2 separate regions of the Homo sapiens genome follow, and region 2 is linked to region 1. The links are contacts of gene promoters, found by promoter capture Hi-C in human tissues and cell types (Jung and others, 2019). All regions are on one chromosome and are shown on one strand. The core of a region is centred on a gene start or on the middle of the fragment in contact, and the rest is flanking DNA. Distances in the headings are between cores, read along the strand shown.

What was found. Contacts are between HindIII fragments. The study calls those that stand out against the background at their distance.
Region 2: a contact is called between a fragment that was not itself captured here and the fragment with the promoter of GHR in region 1, in 1 of the 25 tissues and cell types used here (heart left ventricle).

What each region holds. Positions count from the first base shown.
Region 1 is chr5:42,419,164-42,424,688 of GRCh38, forward strand. GHR (growth hormone receptor) reads left to right here and starts at 4,276. Exons shown (of 10, transcript NM_000163.5): 1 at 4,276-4,792. RefSeq lists promoters at 3,559-4,644, 4,068-4,640, 4,250-4,350, 4,548-5,316, 4,969-5,316 and 1 more, cis regulatory regions at 3,559-4,067, 4,405-4,445 and an enhancer at 4,272-4,421. The HindIII fragment of the contact is 10,174 bases long and covers 2,208-5,525 here.
Region 2 is chr5:42,817,647-42,823,072 of GRCh38, forward strand. No RefSeq gene overlaps it. Among named protein-coding and RNA genes, the nearest start is that of SELENOP, 8.5 kb to the left of the region's middle. The HindIII fragment of the contact is 6,385 bases long and covers 417-5,426 here.

The DNA.
Region 1 (5,525 bases), core at 3,026-5,525:
TTAAAGGGATAATATTTTATTAGAATCTTATTAATTTTACCAGTAAATATTGTATTAATCAGGGAGATATATATATATATATATGTCATATTCATGAGATATATATATATATATATATGTCATATTCATGAGATATATATACAGAGACTTATTTTGAGAAATTTGCTCACATAATTGTGAAAACTGAAAAGTCAAAAATCTACAGGGTAAATTGGTTACAGATTTAGGGAATAGTTGATATGCAGTTTGAATCCAAAGGCTGCCTGCTGACAGAATTTTCTCTTCTTTGGGATAGGTCAGTTTTTTTCTCTTAATGCCTTCAACTGATCGATTGAGGCCCACCTACATTATGTAGAGCAATATGATTTACTCAAAGTCTATTGATTTAAATGTTAATCTTACCATAAAAATGCCTTTGCCAAAAAAATCTAAAATAATATTTGACCAAATATCTGGGTACCATGGTCTAGCAAAATTGACACATAAAATTAACCATCTCAATGTGTCAACTTTGCTAGGGCATGGTACCCGGACATTTGGTCAAATATTATTCAAATAAATTTAGAATTTATCACAAATGTTTGATATCATAATTTGATTTACAAATATCAATCTAATACTTTATTTTACAGCTGAATGATCTCAGAGAGCAACCCCTTCCTTCTATAGGCCAAGAAATGGAGTCATTGTGAGATTAGTAACTAATTTACCCAAAATCACAGAGGACCCACACAGGATCCCAAGGCTCCTGACTAACAATCCTATGTTCTTCAACTACAAATGCTATAAAACAAAACAGCTATAAAATGCTACTTTAAGTGTTTTGGCCTCTTTTGTTTTGTTTTGAGAAGAAGCTTTGGCATTTTATAGTACAACAGAGTGACTAAAGCCATGCTCTAACCTCAGATAACTGTAGATTTAGGAAGTTTATACTGTGGTGTTTTATGGTTTGGGGAGATGGCGATCTGACCTAGATATCTGCACTTGAATATATATAATCAGAATTATTTTCTAATTGTTTCTATTGTCTTCAAGGCAGTTTATATTTTTTGCTAAGCCCTACTGGGGATGTATAAAAGACTGGGGAAGGGTGGGCCATAATAAGGTAAGGCCATAATAAGGTAAAATAGGTTGGACAAGATAAGTTAGCCAATATCTGAGTAAAGACTTCAAGGAACTGTAGGAGGAAGCAAATGAATATTTGTGGAAGTGTGTTTAAATCAGAGAGAAAAGCCAGCAAAAAGCCTTCAAGTTAGGAGTCTGCCTGGCCTGCTTAAGAAACAGCAGGGAGGCCGGTGTGCTGGGAGCAGAATGGATGACCCAGTGATGGGGAAATTCATGGGAGATGAGGTGTGGGGCAAAGGTACATAGCTCACGTAGGGTCTCATGGGCCATTTTGAATTTTATTCTGATTTGAATGGGGAACCATTGGAGGGTTTTGAGCTGAGGAATGACATGATATTAATTTTAAAAGGAATGACTATGGCAACTGAATTTATACTTTGGGTTGTTGTTGGTGTTGGTTGGGGATTAGGGGTGGGGTTTGTCAAAGCAAGCAGACCAGTTGAGTTGAGAGACTACTGCAGTAATCTGAGAAATTCTGGTGGTTCAGACCAGGTGTCTCTGGACCTCTCCAAGAAAATAGACAGAGTTTTGAATGTGGAATGTGATTGGCAGAGAAGAAGTAAGGATGATTTCAAAGGTTTGTGGCCTGGGTAACTGGCAGGAAGTAGTTGCCATCTACTGAGATGGAAATGTCACCCACTGTGATTGGAGTATGTTTAAGGAGAAAGAACCAGAGTTCAGATGTGGACATGTCAAGTTTCAGAGGTCTGTTAGACATCCAAATGGAGATACCCAGTTGTTAGCCTGGAGCTCTGTGGAGAGATCTGGGTTAGAGATATAAATCCAAGAGATACAACTTTTCATTCAATTTGATTATTTATTGGACGCTTTATAAACTCTGTAAATACTGGGCACTAACCTAGACATTGCAGGTACAGATATTAAGAATATATAGTTTCTCCCTCAGAAATCTCTTAATTAATGAGAAAAGCAGACATGTCAACAAAACTGCAATATTTAATAAAAGAAGATATAAAGGCCTATAAAGGTGCTGATACAGGGAGAATTAATTAATTCCACCCTGGGGAATAGTCAGGAAGACCTTCAGAGAGAAAGTAAACAATTGATTGGAACTTTAAGATTAAGAAGGATTTCTCTGGGTGGACAAAGTAGGATCTTCCAAGCAGAGTGGAAACCATGAGCAAATGCAGTTTCATTCTTCAGAAGGTAAATGTGCTCTGGCATGCCTTAACTTATAACAAATTAATCAACTCAATACCTGCTACATTTTCCCTCACAATTTGGAATATATAAAGAGGCACATACTACTATGGACCAATACCTGGTCATATATGAGATTGAAGGACCTTTACTTACGAGGCTTAAAAATAAAGACTGCCCTTCATGTCAGTTGCAGGTTTATATCTAGTTCTATAGTATTAACTGAGGTGTCTTTTCCTATGTTTTCTGTGCATGATGACTTTTTAAAAATCAAAGACAGAGCAGCAGCCAGAGTAGTCTAGTTTCATGGCACACAGAATGGAGGATATTGCTGAACCCAGATTTAAAAAAAAAAAGAAGTCAATTCTTATTTTTTTAAGTATGGCCCTGAGCTCATCTCAGAGCATAAACAATAGAATTTAGAATATCTTTTATGACTCCGTCTGGCACCTCCTAAACTAGATCAAGATTCTCTAGCTCAGGGAAGAAGGGCAAAGGATGAGAAGGCACAGAGAGGATATAAACAGAGAGGTTGGTAGTGCCAGGCTCTGAAGAAGGTCCAACTTGGAAGGTCATTTCAGACAGGCGTGGAGTCAGCATTTGAGGCCTGTCTGGTCTCTACTCCTGCCAGGACTACCCTGTCAGCCAGCTTGGCAGGTATGGACCACCCAGCAGGAGTTTTTCTTGACTGTGCCCTAATCTTTTACTTTCCCAAGTTTCTCTATATGGGTACCTCCCCTTTTAAAAGCTCCAGACACAGCCAAGCACCACTATTGCTCCAGCAAAGTATGAAGCCCCAGAAATCAATGGTTTGGGGAAGAGTCTTAGGGGAACTAAATGCCTCCTTATTTTTAGATGCCATAGAACAAGAGCAGTTCAGGATCAATAACCATCCCACCCCATGATAAAACACGCCCCTTCCAGAATCTTTCCTTTTTCGTTCATTCTAGGTGTCTGTCTGGAACAGCTGGGGTATTTGAGCCACAGCTGAGCTTCTGAAAGCATTCTAAGGAACAGTTTTTCACTTATCTGATTCCTTTGAAAATAGGGGTATCTTATGTGATATCTGCTATCCCAGAGTCTTTGGTCCTCTGTTCCTTCTCAAGTCTTGGCTCCCGTGTACTACTTCAAAGCCCTATAGATATTTTATTCTAAAGAAAAGAAACTTGGTTCCTTTAAGTTGTTTAAACATTTCTTTCTGGGTATAAACTTGGGTTTGTGTCTGGGAGCTCTGTTAAAAAAAAAAAGTCTTTAGTAAGCCAAAGCTGTTAGAAGCTTATAAGTAAGTGACATTACAATTGACCGTCAGTAAATAGTGGAAAGATTGCATGACTAGCTACTCCTTCAGATCTGAGACAACCTGGAGCTAGATTTTTGTACTCTCTACTCAGAAAAGCATATAGTGACTTGGGGTTTGATGCTGTACAAAAATGACATGCTTATGCACAACTTTAACTTTCTGCAACACTTTTACAACTTCTTGTGAATGAAGTAGGCAGGGCTCGCATTTGACAGATGAGCTATGTCCAGCGTGAGGCAGAGTTAAAACCCTTTTCCTGGCTCAGGAACTTCAGGCTGGGGCCTGTGTCTGCTCTCCCTGCATCCCTGTCCTCTAGCAGATACCTCTCTGCTAACATGCTGAGTGTCCTTGGTAAATTACTCATTCTCTCTGTCTCCGTCTTCTAACCTCCACAATAAAGTCCTTCGTAGTTTTAACTATCTTTTCACTGTGCCCCAGTGAGCAGGAGTTTGGAACTTGATTGTTGATGGAAAGGCAATATTTGGATGGCTAAACACGCTTTCCAAGGTATCTCGCTGATCTTCCTCTCATTCCTGGAGATAGCTAACCTTTTTGTAAGTGTTTCTTTGAGTCTGTGGACTGCACTTAACGCTCTTGTAGGTCCTGCTTTCATTTGGAACGGGCAGGCGGAGAGGAAGGAAGTGTATTGCAACTACCAATATTTTCCTCTAGGAGGAGCCGCGCAGCTCAGTTGAGAGTGACACGCACCAACTCCAGCTCCTCGCCGGGAAGACTTCATCCCAGCAACTCGGAATGCTTGGCCCGGGCGGCACTCGGCCTCTCCGCAGCAGTTCTCGAACTGGCCTCCTTGAACGTCCGCTTCGCCTTCGCTTCTGCAACCTGGATCTGGGGGACTGCGGGCCAGGCGCGGCGTGACCCCTGGTGAACGGTGGCCGCCTTTTCCCACCCCTGCCCTCCCATCCTCCCTTCCCGTTTCACCCCGCCCCCTCTCTCCTCCCCAAGCCTGACAGCCCGCGAGCTGCCAAGCAGGGCGCAGCCATGGGAAGAGGAGGAGGGCTAGGGAGCGGCGGCGGCGGCGGCAGCGGCAGCAGCAGCTGCTACAGTGGCGGTGGCGGCGGCGGCTGCTGCTGAGCCCGGGCGGCGGCGGGGACCCCGGGCTGGGGCCACGCGGGCCGGAGGCCCCGGCACCATTGGCCCCAGCGCAGACGCGAACCCGCGCTCTCTGATCAGAGGCGAAGCTCGGAGGTACTGGAGTGGGGCTCCGGGAGTCTGGCTTTATTTTCCTCCTGTTGTGCCAGGGGGCCTGAGGGTGAACCCTGGGACTCTAGTTGTTTATGAAAACGGGAGGATCTGTCTTATATATTTACACGGATAATTTTTTATTCCGGATGACTTGGCTGTGCTCCCCTCCTCCTTGCGAAGAAGTTGTTTTCTGCTGGTGGGTTGTTGTAACCCAATCTAGTGTGTGTGTGTGTGTGTGTGTGTGTGTGTGTGTGTGTGTGTGTGTGTCTGGAAGTTGGTGAGGGCGGCAGGGAGTTGCGGGCGACAGACGAACCATCACACTCTGGCGTCTGCTCTGGCCCGCGAGTAGTGTACGTGGAGGGGTTTACTCCGGAGACAGTTTTGTTAAAGTCATAAAAGTTTTGCTAGTGTGTTTCTGTTTGCCATCATCTGCCTGGCTGCGGCAGGAACTGCCGAGGCTGCTGCTGTTGCGCGGGGAAGAATCCCCGGCAGCGCGACTGGAGAGACTGGGGAGGTCGAGCTGTGCGCGTGGACACAGCGCGCAGAGCGCGCGGTCTTTTGCGCGTTTGTGCGGGCCGCAGCCGCACGTTGGCACCGATGGAACTGGGGTCAGTAGAGTGACAGCCACCAGTCCGCATGAACTGGGGTAAGTGGAAATTGTGGCGAGCCGACCTCCCCCAGCTTTTGACACACTAGTGGTTGTAAAATCAACCAGGCTTAAAGTTTTGACAGAACT
Region 2 (5,426 bases), core at 2,359-4,858, 400 kb after region 1:
AAGCAGCATGGAATAAGATGCAGTTCTCTAAATTGGAAAAAAAGTTACACAGTAAAAAAATAAGTATATCTGTCAAAAATCATATTTTTATGAGATGTGTCAATACTGGTCTCGTGTCATTTAGGCTACTTGGAAAAAAGATAAAAAAAATCCTGTTTGGCTCCAAAAAGGAAAAATCAGCCCCCTCCTGCATGAGTGGGAGCTGCAACCCTTTAGAACTGATAATCACAAACCCCTCAGAACCAAAGTGAAATGAAGGAAAATATGTAACATTAGGCATTGATGGAAGAGGACTAGATCCTAGTGTAAGCATCCTAATAAAAGGAGGGGTTCAAAGATGCTCTCCAGAACCAGTATTTCAGACTTCCTATGATAAACTAAATGTGCCAGTACCAGAGACTCCAGGAAAAACCAGAAATTTGTTTTTGCAATTAGCCGAGCATGTAGTCCAGTCTTTAAATGTCAATTCATGTTATGTTTGTGGAAAAACTGTAGTAAGAGTTTCCATAAGAAGAACTTCCATAAGAAGCCCGAGAATTAGTTCCTACAGACCCAGTTCCTGATGAATTCCCAGCCCAAAAGAACCACCCTGACAATTTTTAGGTCCTAAAAGTCTGAATTATTAGACAGTGTTGCATAGCTAGAGAAGGAAAAGGATTCACTCATCCTATAAGGCGGCTTAGTTGTCTTAGGCAAAAGCTGTATAATGGTACCACAAATACAGTTACATGGTGGAGTTCCAATTACACAGAAAGAGATCCATTCAGTCAATTTCCAAAGTTGCAGACTGCTTGGGCCCACCCAGAATTCCACCGGGACTGGACGGCCCCCACCAGGTTATACTGGATATGTGGACACAGAGCTTATGCTAAGCTGCCTGATCAGTGGACAGGTAGCTGTGTAATTGACACCATTAAACCATCTTTCTTCTTACTGCCCATAAAAGCAGGGGAACTTCTGGGCTTCCCAGTCTATGCTTCCCGCAAAAAACAAAGCATAGCCATAGGTGATTGGAAAGATGATAAATGGCCCCCTGAAAGAATCATACAATACTATGGACCCACCACTTGGGCACAAGATGGCTCTTGGGGATATCGGACCCCCATCTACATGCTCAACGGAATCATACGGTTACAAGCTGTTTTCGAAATTATTACTAATACAACCGGTCAAGCCTTGACTGTTCTTGCCCAGCAGGAGACTCTGATGAGAAATGCTATCTATCAAAATAGACTAGCTCTTGACTACTTGCTAGCAGCTGAAAGAGAAGTTTGTGAAAAATTTAACTTTACTAATTGTTTTCTACACACAGGTGATCAAGGGCAAGTAGTTAAAAATATAGTTAAAGATATAACAAAACTGGCACATGTACCCATACAAGTGTGGCACGGACTCAATCCAGGATCCATGTTTAAAAATTAGTTCCCAGCAATAGGAAGATTTAAAACTCTTATAATAGGAGTTATAATAGTAATAAAAACCTGCTTACTGCTCCCTTGTTTACTACTTTTACTTCTTCAAATGATAAAAAGCTTCATTGCTACCTTAGTTCACCAAAATGCTTCAGCACAAGTGTACTATATGAATCACTATCAATCTATTGCACAAAAAGACATAAGTAGCAAAAATAAGAGTGAGAACTCCCACTAATAAAAAGTGAGAGTCTCAAAGGGGGAAAATGAGGAAAGAGAGCGACCCTCTCATATTGTTCTATATTGTTTTATACTCAGTACCTGTTTTAAGGAAAAAAAAAAAAAAAGAAAGTGAAATCAAAGACAGGCAGCCCGGCGCCAGGCCCAAAACCAGGCCTGGGCCTGCCTGGCCTAAACCCAGTAGTTAAAAATCAATTCATAACTTAGAAACCGATGTTATTCATAGATTCCAGACATTGTATAGAAGAACATTCTGAAACTCCCTGCCCTGTTCTATTTCTCTCTGACCACCAGTGCATGCAGCTCCTGTCACGTACCCCTTGCTTGATCAAATCAATCATGACCCTTTCTTGTGAAATCTTTAGTATTGTGAGCCTTTAAAAGGGACAGAAATTGTGTACTCAGGGAGCTCAGAATTTAAGGCAGTAGCTTGCCGATCCTCCCTGCTGAATAAAGCCCTTCCTACTATAACTCGGTGTCTGAGAGCTTTTGTCTGCGGCTCATCCTGCTACATTATTGGTCTATCTGCAATCAGAAAGCAGGTGTTTCACTATGTCCTCTTTTCTTTACATGTGAGCTTAGCAGGAACCTCCTGACCCAAAAGAATTTCATCCAAGTGTTCAAGTTGATTGTTATCAACTTAAAGTAGTTTTGAAAGTTGTTTCAAAAGAAAGTGCCAAGGATTATGTGTATTGAGGCCAGTGTATGTCTAAAACCTCAGGTGACAAAAGGAAAAGATGAGGAGCTTGTAATGTTTGAAAGGAATTTATTCTTAGAGGGCATGGTGTCTCATGCCTATAATCTCAGCTACTCAGGAGGTTGAGATGGGATCACTTGCACCCAGGAGTTCGAGGATACAATGAGCTATGATTGTGATGCAGGATTTTTTGCTTCTTAGCTCAGCTAAAATCTAGGTTCTTGTCTCACAACCAGAAAAAATTAGGCATGCAGACACATTGGAAGGCAGGGAGAGTGGAATTTATTAAAAGAAAGCTCTCAGCAAAAAAAAAATTAAAAAATTAAAATGGGGGGTTCCTGCCAACAGGCTTCCACCTCACAGATTGAATACCAGCCCGCCACACAAGAGCTGAAGAGACAGGGCTCCTCCCCACTCCATAAGGTGAGAATTCCCAGTGGCTCCACCCCATTCTCCCAGTGCACAAGGGGACCCCTAGTCGGTTGTGGGCATCTTTAGGCAACCCTCCTGTACACAATGACCTGGGCAGCATTTGGCTGTCTCCTGTCTCTATCAATTGCACCACTGAACTTCAGCCTGGGTGAAAGAGCAAGACCACACCTCTAAAAAAAGAAAATAATAATAATAATAAAATGGGCTGGGAGTGGTGCCTAACACCTGTAATTGCAGCACTTTGGGAGCCCAAGGTGGGTGGATCACCTGAGGTCAGGAGTTCAAGATCAGCCTGGCCAACATGGTGAAACCCCGTCTCTACAAAAAATACAAAAATTAGCCAGGCGTGGTGGCGGGTGCCTGTAATCCCAGCTACTCGGGAGGCTGAGGCAGGAGAATGGCTTGAAACTGGAAGCAGAGGTTGCAATGAGCAGAGATCATGCCCTTGCACTCCAGCCTGGATGCCAAGAGAAACTCCATCTCAAAAAAAGAAAAGAAAGAAAGAAATTGATCCATTCCTAACAGTCTCTTCTGTGCTGGGCAACCTGGCACCAGTCAGCATTTTCAAGAAAGCAGAATTTCCAAACAAACACCAACTCGGTATTATACAAAATTACATTAAATCAAACAAATCAAAGGAACATTTGTTGGTTGCTTATGCTAGGCACAATGCTAAATGTTGGGACTACAGAGATTTAAAAATAAAAACAAAAAATGGTATTTCTTGTTCTCAGGGACCTCAAAATCTGATAGGGTAGACAGACAAGTAAGCAGAAAAAACAAAGTATAAAGCTTGATCCCCTCTAGGATGACTGTAAGCACAAGATTCTGTTGGAAACTTGGAAATGAAGACAGGAGCATTGAACCCAGCCTGGAGATAGGATCAGTATCAGGTTGGTGCACTTTCCAGCAAGTTCAACAGGCATTATCTTGGATTTTACATTCCACCTACAGAATACTCAGCAAACCTGACCACAGCACTGCCTAGACCAGGGGTGTCCAATCTTTTGGCTTCCCTAGGCCAGATTGAAATAATTGTCTTGAGCCACACATAAAATACGCTAACACTAACAATAGCTGATGAGCTAAAAAAAATTTTAAAACACTATGTATAAAGACGGTCATTCTCTATTTATTATTCCACAATGCTTTTAATTTAAGCATCATGGAAATCTTTCCCCGTCATAGACATTCTTCTGTGTCAGTGTGTATAGAGTTACCTCATTCTTTTTAAAATGCACATTATTTTATTCTATGAATGGTCTGTAATGTGTATACTCATTTTCCCTTTCTAACTGAAGCAAAGATTTTGTAAATAAGACATTCATTTTTATTTTACAGTTTTCCATGTTTATGTAACTGAAAAATATAAATATTTAAATAAAGCAATCAAATTTAGAATATATACTTTCGCTGATCCGAGAATTAATGAAAAAATGGCAAAATATTTATTCTCTTTGAAAAATGACTCAATTGTCATTTAAGAGTTATAACTATTAAAACAAGCCATGACCTTAGTCCTGAATACATATTTGTGTAGGATTGTCTAATGTTGGGACTCAGAAAAACATACCCAAAATGAAGGCCGCAGAAGCAGCCTCAAAACAGAAATTTTTCTCTGACCTTCTCCTACCCTACTATCTCTCAATCCCATTCTCTCTCAAGGCTAGCCATAAAAACTAGAATCTGTCTTACTCAAGGTGGGTCATAGAAACTAGAACCCCTTTACCCAAAGCCAGCCATAAAATCTAAAAATTTTACTCTAACTTTCCCTCCACTATAACTGCACAAAAACTGGCCACTAAAAAATTAGATAACTAGACTTATCTTGTTTGATTATAGGTCATAAGACCCCCATTCCAGAGAGGGCCCTGTGCCATATCCAAAAAAAGGAATACATGCTCAGAGAGGCGAAGAAAAATCTAGACAGACAGACCTTTCTGAGTTTCCCCACTCAGTCTATTAACATTAGATCATATTTTTTGTCCAATCATGTTTCTACTTGCTGCCCATACTTTGTTAAACCTAAACATAAAAATGGACAATTTCCCCTGTATCTTTGGGTCTTAATTTTAAAGGCTCCCATGTACACATTAATAAATATGTATGCCTTTTCTCCTATTAATATGCATCTTATCAGTGATTTTCTGCAAATCTTCGGAAGGCAAAGGGGAAGTTTTCCCTTTTCCCCTATACTAATCTTTAAGGTACATATTCTAACTTTTACAAGAAGCATAAAATCATGTGTGCACGTATATTTCTGTGTATGTGCATGTGTATGTGTGCATGCATGTGCATTGGAAACCTAGGCCCTGGAGCATGACTCCAGAGTGAGAGTAAACAGAAGACAAGCACATGAACAAAGACTGGGAAGATATGCTCAGAATTAACAGTGGTTCCCCTTCAGAATAAACATGATTTTTAGTTCTTCTTTTTATTTTTATGTATTTTCTAGAAAGTCTAGAATAATAATAGCTATCATTTATTGGATGTTTACTATATTCCAGTCATATTCTGTCTTTTATAGGTAATAAATAACACATTTAATCATCACAATAGTCTTTACCCTGTGAGAAAATAGGTACGAAGATGTTAAGTAACTTGACCTATATTCACAGCTAAAAGATAGAGGAGCTGGGATTCAA